3 separate regions of the Homo sapiens genome follow, and regions 2 and 3 are each linked to region 1. The links are contacts of gene promoters, found by promoter capture Hi-C in human tissues and cell types (Jung and others, 2019). All regions are on one chromosome and are shown on one strand. Each heading gives the region's core, a stretch centred on a gene start or on the middle of the fragment in contact. The rest is flanking DNA. Distances are from core to core; before and after follow the strand shown.

Region 1 (3,332 bases), core at 317-2,816:
TCGTTTTGGACATGGTAAGGTTGAGATGCCTGAGACACATGAGAGTGAAGGTGAGACGTAGGCACTTGGGTATATAAATCTTGAGCTCAGAGGAATGTAGTGTGTTTTCCCCTGTCCCGAAAAGCTGTGGTATAGCAATAGTGAATCTTATCATCAGTGGAATATTATAGTGATAATAATTATAGCTGATACTTAGGGGCCTCTAAACTTCTTCCAGGTGATGAAATAAACTGTCTCTGTGTATTACTTCATTTAATTCTCACAGCAACTATCTTTGGAATTTATCACTTTTATCTCCATTTCATAGACAAGGAAACTGAGTGTTGGAAGGTGAAGTGAATTGCCTAAAGTCACCAGTTCAGCAAATGGGAAATGTAGGACTTGACACCAAGACTGTTTGGCCCCAGAGGCTATGCTCTGAACCATAATGACTTCCTGTCTTCCAAAAGGCAGGCTCTTGGATCCATATCTTACTGTGCTTCTAAATTATCCTGTGACCCTGAACCTTAGTTTGCTCACCTGGGAAATGAAGGGAGGTCCTGGTTAGGTTCCCTTCAGTTCTACTCTATTGCAGTATGCTGATCTCTTTTGTAAATCTGTATTAAATGAGAGTTTGCTATCGGTGACTTTCAGAGATGACACCAGTGATGATGCCCATGCTGACGATTCATTCTGATGTCTATGAAAAGAGCAAATCCTTTAAGAGAAGATGTAGCATACCAGTGTTTATAATCTGAGTTTCATTTGATTAAGAGGGGAAGCTCTTTAGAACAAATATCATTTCTGAGCGAGAGAATGTTCAGCATCTCAGCCTCATTTGTATCATTTGATAAAAGGGCCCCACTGAGCCAAGTGTGAGGATGATGCTTGAGCCAGACACATAGACACCAGACATTCCTCTGATGTCTGCTCCCCAGGCTTGGCCACATTGCCTCCCACCAACCCCATCTCAATGACACATCCATTACCTGCCATCAGTTGGCTCTATGGTGCTGGGAATGACAGAGTGTATCTACCCTGGATTTCAGAAAGAACCCTCCTGGCTTATCATGGCAACACCCTTTGGACACTCGTTTAAAGAGTCCTTCTTTGGGCCAGTGTTATCCTTTTGGGGGCATCTGGTATGGACGGCCAATTTGAATCTGACTGGGACATGCTAATGAGCCATTCATATGTGTGGGATTTGTTTCTGATTCGATTAAGCTTCAGAGAGAGGAAAGAAACAGCCACTGATTAGAGACATAAAAAAAGAAATACTTTAAGTGAGTAAGTGGTTCATCTTCATATAGGAAAGTATAAATTAAACATGGTCCAGGAGATGTGCTTTGAATAGCAGCTGGATAGCACAAGCATGTCCACAAGGAGACGGTGCCTCACAGCAATTGAAAGGGACTTAACCCCCAAAAAGGGCTCTGAATATGCTGAGTAAATAGATGAGCCCAGTTAGCTGATAAAAATGACTCTCAGATTAGAGATGGGAAGGTTTTTATTTGGATTTTAGAAAATTGCTCCCCACTCCATCGCCGCCATATTGTCTGTGTGAGCAGAAGGGAGAGCGGCCACAGCCGCTGCCGCTTCCACCACAGTGTGAAGAAAACAGGTCTGAAACAAGGTCTTACCCCCAAGCTGCTTCTGAACACAGTGACTGCCAGATCTCCAAACATCAAGTCCAGCTTTGTCCGCCAACCTGTCTGACATGTCGGGACCCGTGCCAAGCAGGGCCAGAGTTTACACAGATGTTAATACACACAGACCTCGAGAATACTGGGATTACGAGTCACATGTGGTGGAATGGGGAAATCAAGATGACTACCAGCTGGTTCGAAAATTAGGCCGAGGTAAATACAGTGAAGTATTTGAAGCCATCAACATCACAAATAATGAAAAAGTTGTTGTTAAAATTCTCAAGCCAGTAAAAAAGAAGAAAATTAAGCGTGAAATAAAGATTTTGGAGAATTTGAGAGGAGGTCCCAACATCATCACACTGGCAGACATTGTAAAAGACCCTGTGTCACGAACCCCCGCCTTGGTTTTTGAACACGTAAACAACACAGACTTCAAGCAATTGTACCAGACGTTAACAGACTATGATATTCGATTTTACATGTATGAGATTCTGAAGGCCCTGGATTATTGTCACAGCATGGGAATTATGCACAGAGATGTCAAGCCCCATAATGTCATGATTGATCATGAGCACAGAAAGCTACGACTAATAGACTGGGGTTTGGCTGAGTTTTATCATCCTGGCCAAGAATATAATGTCCGAGTTGCTTCCCGATACTTCAAAGGTCCTGAGCTACTTGTAGACTATCAGATGTACGATTATAGTTTGGATATGTGGAGATTGGGTTGTATGCTGGCAAGTATGATCTTTCGGAAGGAGCCATTTTTCCATGGACGTGACAATTATGATCAGTTGGTGAGGATAGCCAAGTTTCTGGGGACAGAAGATTTATATGGCTATATTGACAAATACAACATTGAATTAGATCCACGTTTCAATGATATCTTGGGCAGACACTCTCGAAAGCGATGGGAACGCTTTGTCCACAGTGAAAATCAGCACCTTGTCAGCCCTGAGGCCTTGGATTTCCTGGACAAACTGCTGCGATATGACCACCAGTCACGGCTTACTGCAAGAGAGGCCATGGAGCACCCCTATTTCTACACTGTTGTGAAGGACCAGGCTCGAATGGGTTCATCTAGCATGCCAGGGGGCAGTACGCCCGTCAGCAGCGCCAATGTGATGTCAGGGATTTCTTCAGTGCCAACTCCTTCACCCCTTGGACCTCTGGCAGGCTCACCAGTGATTGCTGCTGCCAACCCCCTTGGGATGCCTGTTCCAGCTGCCACTGGCGCTCAGCAGTAACGGCCCTATCTGTCTCCTGATGCCTGAGCAGAGGTGGGGGAGTCCACCCCCTCCTTGATGCAGCTTGCGCCTGGCGGGGAGGGGTGAAACACTTCAGAAGCAACGTGTCTGAACCGTTGCTTGTGGATTTATAGTAGTTCAGTCATAAAAAAAAATTATAATAGGCTGAAAAAAAAAAAAAAGAAAATTGCTCCCCAAATCCCTATGACATTTAAGCTCATTGTCATTCTCTGGCAGCACCAGTGACAGTAATGGGGGCCAGAGATCCTATTTCAAAACAAAGAAGTGATTACAGTAGATAGCGCAGGTGTCAATGGGACCCTGATTTGGAACTTGCTAATACTTCTGTCTCTGAGTTTGGGGCTTCTATAGGGTTTTGGTTCCATAGATATGCCTGGACTTGAACTAGCTTACCTTCCCAGCCTTGTGCATCGGGAAGCTGTGAGGGTCAGATCCTTCT
Region 2 (3,332 bases), core at 418-2,917, 56 kb after region 1:
TCTTGGAATCCCCAGAGCTCAGCGTGACAACCTGGTGGGAACGGCCCTGGTAGTCCCATTGCTGGTTCATGGGTGAGTTCATGGTGGCCCTCGGGACCAAGCTCCCGGGCCTGGGCAGCTGCAGCTGAGGTTCGGGACTGGGCGGAGGCAGTGGCCATCAGTGCAGCCGAGGAGAGCCCCTCCAAGGAATGGGTAAGGGGCCACAGGCCCTGAGCTGCCAGAACTCAGCCTTGCTCAGGACTTCTCCCTAGGCAAGGAGGGGAGAGAGCAACTGCCTACCTGAGTGTCTTCACAAGTTTTTAAAACTCTCATAGCCTCAGTTTCCTTATCCTTAAAAGTGGCAGTAGCCACGGGCATGGAAAACACCTAGCAGAGGACTGCTAGGCGCACAAAACTATGTGTGTTTTCTTCTCTTCCTTCCCTTCCTGAAGCTGTGGCAGAGTTTCCATCAGCCAGGTGAGGCTTGACACATGTGAGGGGTGGCTTCTTTGGAGGGCTAGAGGCCAGGCTCTGAGACCAGGGTATCCTGCAGGATGGGGGCCCTTGCCCCAAGGTGAGGGACAGAGTCAGGAGAACCTCCGGCCCTGGGGGACGTTACCCAGCCTCGACTCTGTGGCTCTAAAGGCAGGAATGTGCAACCAGAGTTCTGTGGTCTCCCTGGCCAGCTGTTAGCTCTCAGTCATGGCTCCTACCCCTGGCCTGGAGGAGAGGAAAATGCCACTAGCGTAAGATCCAGGATACGGATGTGTTGATTGTTTTACCTTGCAGGTGATTTTGCTCTTCCTCCTGCAAGAATCAAAATGAAATGCTGGAGATCTGGTTTGCAGCCCTGCTGAGCTGTGTAGAGCTGAGTAGAGAATGAGCCAAATCAATCATTGGCAGCTGAGGAGGAGCTGAGTGGGCGGGGATGACGTTTCTCTGCCCCGGGGGTTTGTAAGACGTCCACAGGCAGGATAACAGCTCACCCCAGCCTCAGACCAGAGTTACAGGAGGGATGCTGCTGTCTCAGAACTTTGTAGCATCTTTTATTCTAGGCTCCTCCAGCTCTCTGGTACTGTCTTAGTCCAGGCCCCCATCATGGTTGGAAGGGATCACAGTGGAAGTCCTCTCCCGGCTCCCCCTGCCCCTCCCAGCCTGGAGGCTGGAGCTGGAGTGACCCCAGGGAGGTGGGCAAGGGAGGTGAGTGGTCGCACATATGGCTCTGGAGTTAAACTGCCTCGCTGTAAATCTCAGCTACTCACCAACCGTGCGACTTTGGAAACATTGCTTATGGTCTCCGTGCCTCAGCTTTCTCGTCTGTAAGGTAAGGGATAATATTAGTACCTGCCTCATGAGTTATTGCTAAGATTAAACAAGATAAAGCATGTAAGTCATTTCATGTCTGGCACAGTGTAAGAGGTAAAAACATGTTAGCTTTTATTATACCTTAAGTTGGGGTATCTCAACAGCGGCACTACTGACATTTTGGCTAGATAATTCTTTGCTGTGGGGGGCTGTCCTGTGCACTTAGGATGTTGAGTGGGATCCCAGACCAGCCACTAGACACCTCCTACCACCCCCACCATCATGACAACCAAAAATGTCTCCAGGCATTCCAGATAGCCCCTGGTTTATAACATTCCTCCACTGAGGACCATCGTTCTAAGTCACTTTTTGCCTTAAACGTTCCAGAGTCCCCATTGCTCAGAAAGCTTAGCTATGCTTGCTGGGACTGCAGGCACTGAAGGTAGGGCATCTTGAACACCTTTTTTGTGTTCGAGCAATTTGTTTATTTAATCCGCTAGGCTGGGCTTCTGAGATGTCCATGTGAGGACTTGAGAAAATCCTCTTTGCCGAACCTCCCTCTGTGATCTGCCAGCCTTGTGATTACGCCAGTCAAGAGGCACTTTGTTGTTTTGTTTTTAAATAACAATCGTCTGCCCCATTATGATTTTCCCAGACTCTGGAGCAATAAACAGCTCTGATGACAGCTGTACCAGATAGTAAGTGCACACGTCTCTCCCAGCATCTCCCTAAACTCTTCAGAGCAGCTAAGTGGATAAAACTGATTTCAGCTGTTACCTGAGTAGCCACTTGTGTCTGCCAAGTCTGCTCCAGAGACAAGAACCAGGCTTTGATGACAGAAGAAGAAAAACATGGGAATGACTGGCTCCCTGGCTGTCCTTGTCTCACAGCCCACATCCCCAAACCTCAGGAAATCTGGGTCCTGGCATGCAGGGAGATTAAGAGCTACAGTGTCCTAAGGAGGTCACAGTGCATTCAACCCAGGGGTATAAACAGGTGTGCACCTTTTGGTGAGAGGCCCAGGTGGCAGGCTGAGGCTCCACACAGTTGAATATTCAGGGCAGTCTTTCTGGATATGGTGGGTTCTCGTTTCTATTTTCAAAGTAGTAAGAGTTGGGGTAGGTGAGTACAAGAAGCAGGGGCACTTCTCATATTCATGTGATTGGGGTCATTGTTTCCTGATATGTTGTTGGTTTCCCTAATGCGGCATGGCTTCTCCAGGACAGGGACCATGGCTTTTCTCATTTCTGTAGTCCTAGATCCCAACTTAGAGATTACTTGTTAGTTGAATAGAGGTATGGGTGTGATGTCTAACTCTATGGCTGTTTAATTTTCTCCATCCTACCAGTTGCCAAGTTCTCCCTCAACTCCAATAAACTAGAAGCCACAGGACATCAGCTTTCTTCGGTGGTGACCTGGAAATCCAGGCCACACAATGGACAGTCTCAGGATTCTGATGAGCAAACCACCTCTTGCCCAGGATAGCTTTGAAGAGGCTCCCCTTGCCTCTTGTTCTGGTTACATTTCCACATCAAAGCTGGACATCCCACATTTGGCCTCTGCTCAGAACTTTGGTCACAGTGAATCCTTCACCTTTGTTATAGAAAAACTCAGTCATTTTAGTCATTTTGATATCAATTACCATGGATTTGCCAAGCTTGATAACTTGTAAAGTGACCACAGAGAGCAGATCTTAGCTGTAATGAGCGTCTTCTGCTCCTCCCTCCAGACACACTCTCCACCCACCTCCCTCCACCCTGAGAGGCTGACGTTATGGAACATTTCAATGGAAATCTCTGGTTTCCAGTTGGGTTCTGCCAGTGGCCTGACCTAGCATGAGATTGAAGTGGGGAGGAAAGAGTGAACTTGGGGTGTTTATTCAGCATCACTTGCCATGACCCCAAAGCCCTCCTCTCAGCTTTCTCTCCATGACTTTTCTCTTACACGTTCTGGTGACAGCTCTGTCCTCTCATTCCACTGGGCGTAGGGGTACTAACTGCTTCATGTTACTTTCCTCAGGGAATCATCCTATCCCTTGTGGTTCCCTG
Region 3 (3,332 bases), core at 599-3,098, 33 kb after region 1:
CCAACCCTGGACTGACTCTCCTTGACCCCATGGTGCCATCTGCCATGGGGGCCTGCCCTGGTCAAAACCTACCCATAGGCCAGGTGTGGTGGCTCACGCCTGTAATCCTAGCACTTTGGGAGGCCGAGGCAGGCAGTTCACCTGAGGTCAGGAGTTCGAGACCAGCCTAGCCAACATGGCAAAACCCTGTCTCTACTAAAAATATAAAAAAATTAGCCAGGCATGTTGGCACACACCTGTAATTCCAGCTACTCGGAAGGCTGAGGCTGGAGAATCACTTGAACCTGGGAGGCAGAGGTTGCAGTGAGCTGAGACTGCGCCACTGCCCTCCAGCCTGAGCGACAGAGTGAGACTCCATCTCAAAAAAACAAAACAGAAAACCTACTCATAAACTGTTGGAGCATCACTGAGTTACTATGGCACCAAAAATGTAAGGGAGTTAGGAAAGGACAGTGAAGTGGGCATTGGGATGCCTGAGTTCAAGGGTTTGTCTTGCTACACAATTGCAACATCACCTTAATCTTCTCTGGGCCTTTATTTTGTTTTACTATTTTATTGAGGTAGAATTTTATACTAAAATACACGAATCTTAACTGCACAGTTCTTAACTTTGTATACACTGTACAGTCACCATTAAGTTCAAACCCATCATTCCAGAAGGCTTCCTCATTTGTCCTCTTGGTCATACCTCCACCCAAAGGTAAGGATGGTTCTGACCACTCTCACCATTGATGAGTTTCATCTGAGCCTGTATTTCTGTCTGCAGATGATAAAGCTGGATTGGGCTTCTTTAGGCTCAACACTCCTAGCTCTGACAATCTGCTTATCTCTAATTCCTTTGTTTTGAAATTCAGTTGGCGTGGGAAACTGTGAATTTGTGCTTGCCAGGAATGCTGGGAGCTGCCTTTGTAAATAAGCTTCTTGATGTGAAGCTGCAGCAAGTCTCAAAGGGTTGGGTCTCCCTTCCTCATCCCCCAAAGCCACAGAACACTCATGCAGCTGGGCTGTACAGGGAGCCCTTGGTGTCCTGGTGACCTTTCACGCCAGGCCATGCTCAGATGCACAACTAGCAGTGCTGTGTAGGGAGGTTTGGGACCAGCCTCAGATTACACACATTTCCCAGGAAGGGGTAGGGATGCTGCTGTGGCAGGACTCTGTTGAGGCTGTGGCCTGCCCAGTGAGCTGGGAGAGCTGGAAAGGACAAGGTTATCCTGGGGACGGGCTGGGTATTCCCAGCCTGAGCTCCTACATCCACCCATGATGAACGCAGGGGCAGGGGATGAGTGAAAGGTAAGGGGCTGCTGTCTGGCAAGGCTTCCCAAAGTCATCTTCCAGCCCGCAAGAAGTTCACTGCTCATGGAAGAGTAAGAAAAGGGGTACTCTAGGACGTGTTACCTGAGAATGAAGTCAGGGTACATCTCAGAAGGAGACTGTGGACAGGTGAGGACCCCAAAGATCCTCTGAATCCTACAGACTTGGTCCAAATCAAACATTCAACATGCATTTCCAGGGATGTCACCCCCTCCTACTGGCAGTTCTCAGCAAGATCTTTATTGTTACCATGGCCACATAGGACAAGGAGAGCTTTGGGAAGGTCGTGTATGCACGGATGGAACTGTCACATGCCATTGTGCAGGTTGTGCACTGTACAACTGCAGGAGATGGAGGTGGCACTTTACATTGTTGCCTAGGGAATATAGACCAAGCCAGGGTAACGGTATTTCTGACCTCTTCTATGAAAACTTACATATTCCTCCCTAAGCATCACACTTGATAGGAAGCCTGAAAATGCTGAAAGACAATTTCTGAGGCAATATATAGTGATTAAGAACCAGACTATATGGGTTCAAATCCCAGCCATGCCACTTACTAACTGAGTCTCTTAGGTGAGTGTCTCCTCATGCCTCAATTTTATTGCCTGTAATGAAATTGGCTGGTGGTTGGTGGTCCCTTGGCTTGTAGCAGCATAAGAGAGAATATAGTAGTACTAACTTTGTGGAGTTGTTATAAGGATTAAATAAATCAATGCACATAAAGCGTTTAGAGAACAAAATCTGGTACACAGTCATCGCTTACTAAATGTTGGCTATTATTACTATTACCAGATTGGTAAAGACACTCTAGACCATGTCCTTGAGTTAATAGAGTAGGAATTGTTTAGCTTAAAAAGAGAACAGATTTAAGGGGGACGTTAAAACTCCTTCCAAAGTATAAGGATGCAGATTTTTGGCTGAGCATGAGGAAACTCTTCCCAATCATTGGCTCAGGTTATTTTGACATCTCCGTCATCAGCACTGAGCCATGTTTGGCAGGCTCCAGGGACATTCTGAAGGATTTTTATACCATGTAGGCTCTTAAGCTAAGAAATTCCTAAGGGCTCTTGCACCCTGGAATTCTATGACTTTTTAATTCATTACCTTGTCCAAATCAAGGTAACGGCTTGTAGCAGCATAACTCCACCCTTCACATGACATTCTCCATGTGTGTGTCTGTGTCCAAATTGCTCCTTTTTTATGAACAGCATTCATGTGCCAGATACTGTTCTTGGCCCTGGGAAATGGATGAACCAGAAAAAAAGTGACTGTCCTTGTGAAGCTATATTCTGGTGCTAGCAACAGACTATTCTCTATTTTCTAATCTTCAAATCTTCACCACAGCCAAGATTTGAACTTGTTTCTCTCTTGAGCATTGCATATGGGGCAACATTTGAGCTTCATGACTTGGATTTCAGCCAGCAATGGCCAAGAATGGTGAAGGTGTAAGAAGGGCAAGAAGGCAGGACTGCAGGCTGGCCCCGTTCATCTTGCTGACTTTGTAAGACGGTTAAGCAAGTACTGAGTGCATTTGAGGAACTGAGTATCTGTAGGCATTTTCTAAGTAAGACGGTTAAGCAAGTACTGAGTGCATTTGAGGAACTGAGTATCTGTAGACATTTTCTAAAGAAAAACGTCAAAATAAAATGGAGAGATTAAATGCAAAAGTGGTTCATGTCCTATGGGGAAATAAAATTATAGCCTTTCATGTGATCTTTTCTACACAGACAGAAATCTAGGAGTTAGCATACAACTTCATAGTGTCTGAGAGAGAATCAAAAGGTAAATAGCAAAGTCAAGCATGAGTACATTCTCTTGGAAAATTACATACTCTTGGATGGGCCCGTTAATGTCCCAGGATAATATTAAAAGGACAGGCCACTTCCCCTCTTTGTTTTTGCCTTATTTCTAGGTTTCAGGTATTTTTCTTACTCTTTTCACAAAGTTTGTTGAAGGTCGAGGGACACTCCAGGCCACTAGTGACTCAGTGACTCTTATGGGTCACAGCCTGACCATCTG

Evidence for each region. The method cuts DNA at HindIII sites, captures the fragments that hold promoters and counts their contacts. A contact is called where the count stands out against the background at its distance.
Region 2: a contact is called between a fragment that was not itself captured here and the fragment with the promoter of CSNK2A3 in region 1, in 2 of the 25 tissues and cell types used here (liver and pancreas).
Region 3: a contact is called between a fragment that was not itself captured here and the fragment with the promoter of CSNK2A3 in region 1, in 4 of the 25 tissues and cell types used here (IMR-90 fibroblasts, hippocampus, mesendoderm cells and 1 more).

What each region holds. Positions count from the first base shown.
Region 1 is chr11:11,351,484-11,354,815 of GRCh38, reverse strand. It overlaps CSNK2A3 (casein kinase 2 alpha 3), which reads left to right and starts at 1,566. Exons shown (of 1, transcript NM_001256686.2): 1 at 1,566-2,874. The coding sequence starts at 1,697. The coding sequence ends at 2,872. All of the region lies in intron 6 of GALNT18 (polypeptide N-acetylgalactosaminyltransferase 18), which reads left to right. The HindIII fragment of the contact is 7,765 bases long and covers 246-3,332 here.
Region 2 is chr11:11,295,341-11,298,672 of GRCh38, reverse strand. All of the region lies in intron 9 of GALNT18 (polypeptide N-acetylgalactosaminyltransferase 18), which reads left to right. It overlaps LOC124902633 (a long non-coding RNA gene), which reads right to left and starts at 1,293. Exons shown (of 3, transcript XR_007062596.1): 1 at 1,242-1,293; 2 at 762-786. The HindIII fragment of the contact is 5,230 bases long and covers 1-3,332 here.
Region 3 is chr11:11,318,650-11,321,981 of GRCh38, reverse strand. The region is part of intron 9 of GALNT18 (polypeptide N-acetylgalactosaminyltransferase 18); the gene reads left to right. Among named protein-coding and RNA genes, the nearest start is that of CSNK2A3, 33 kb to the left of the region's middle. The HindIII fragment of the contact is 7,313 bases long and covers 1-3,332 here.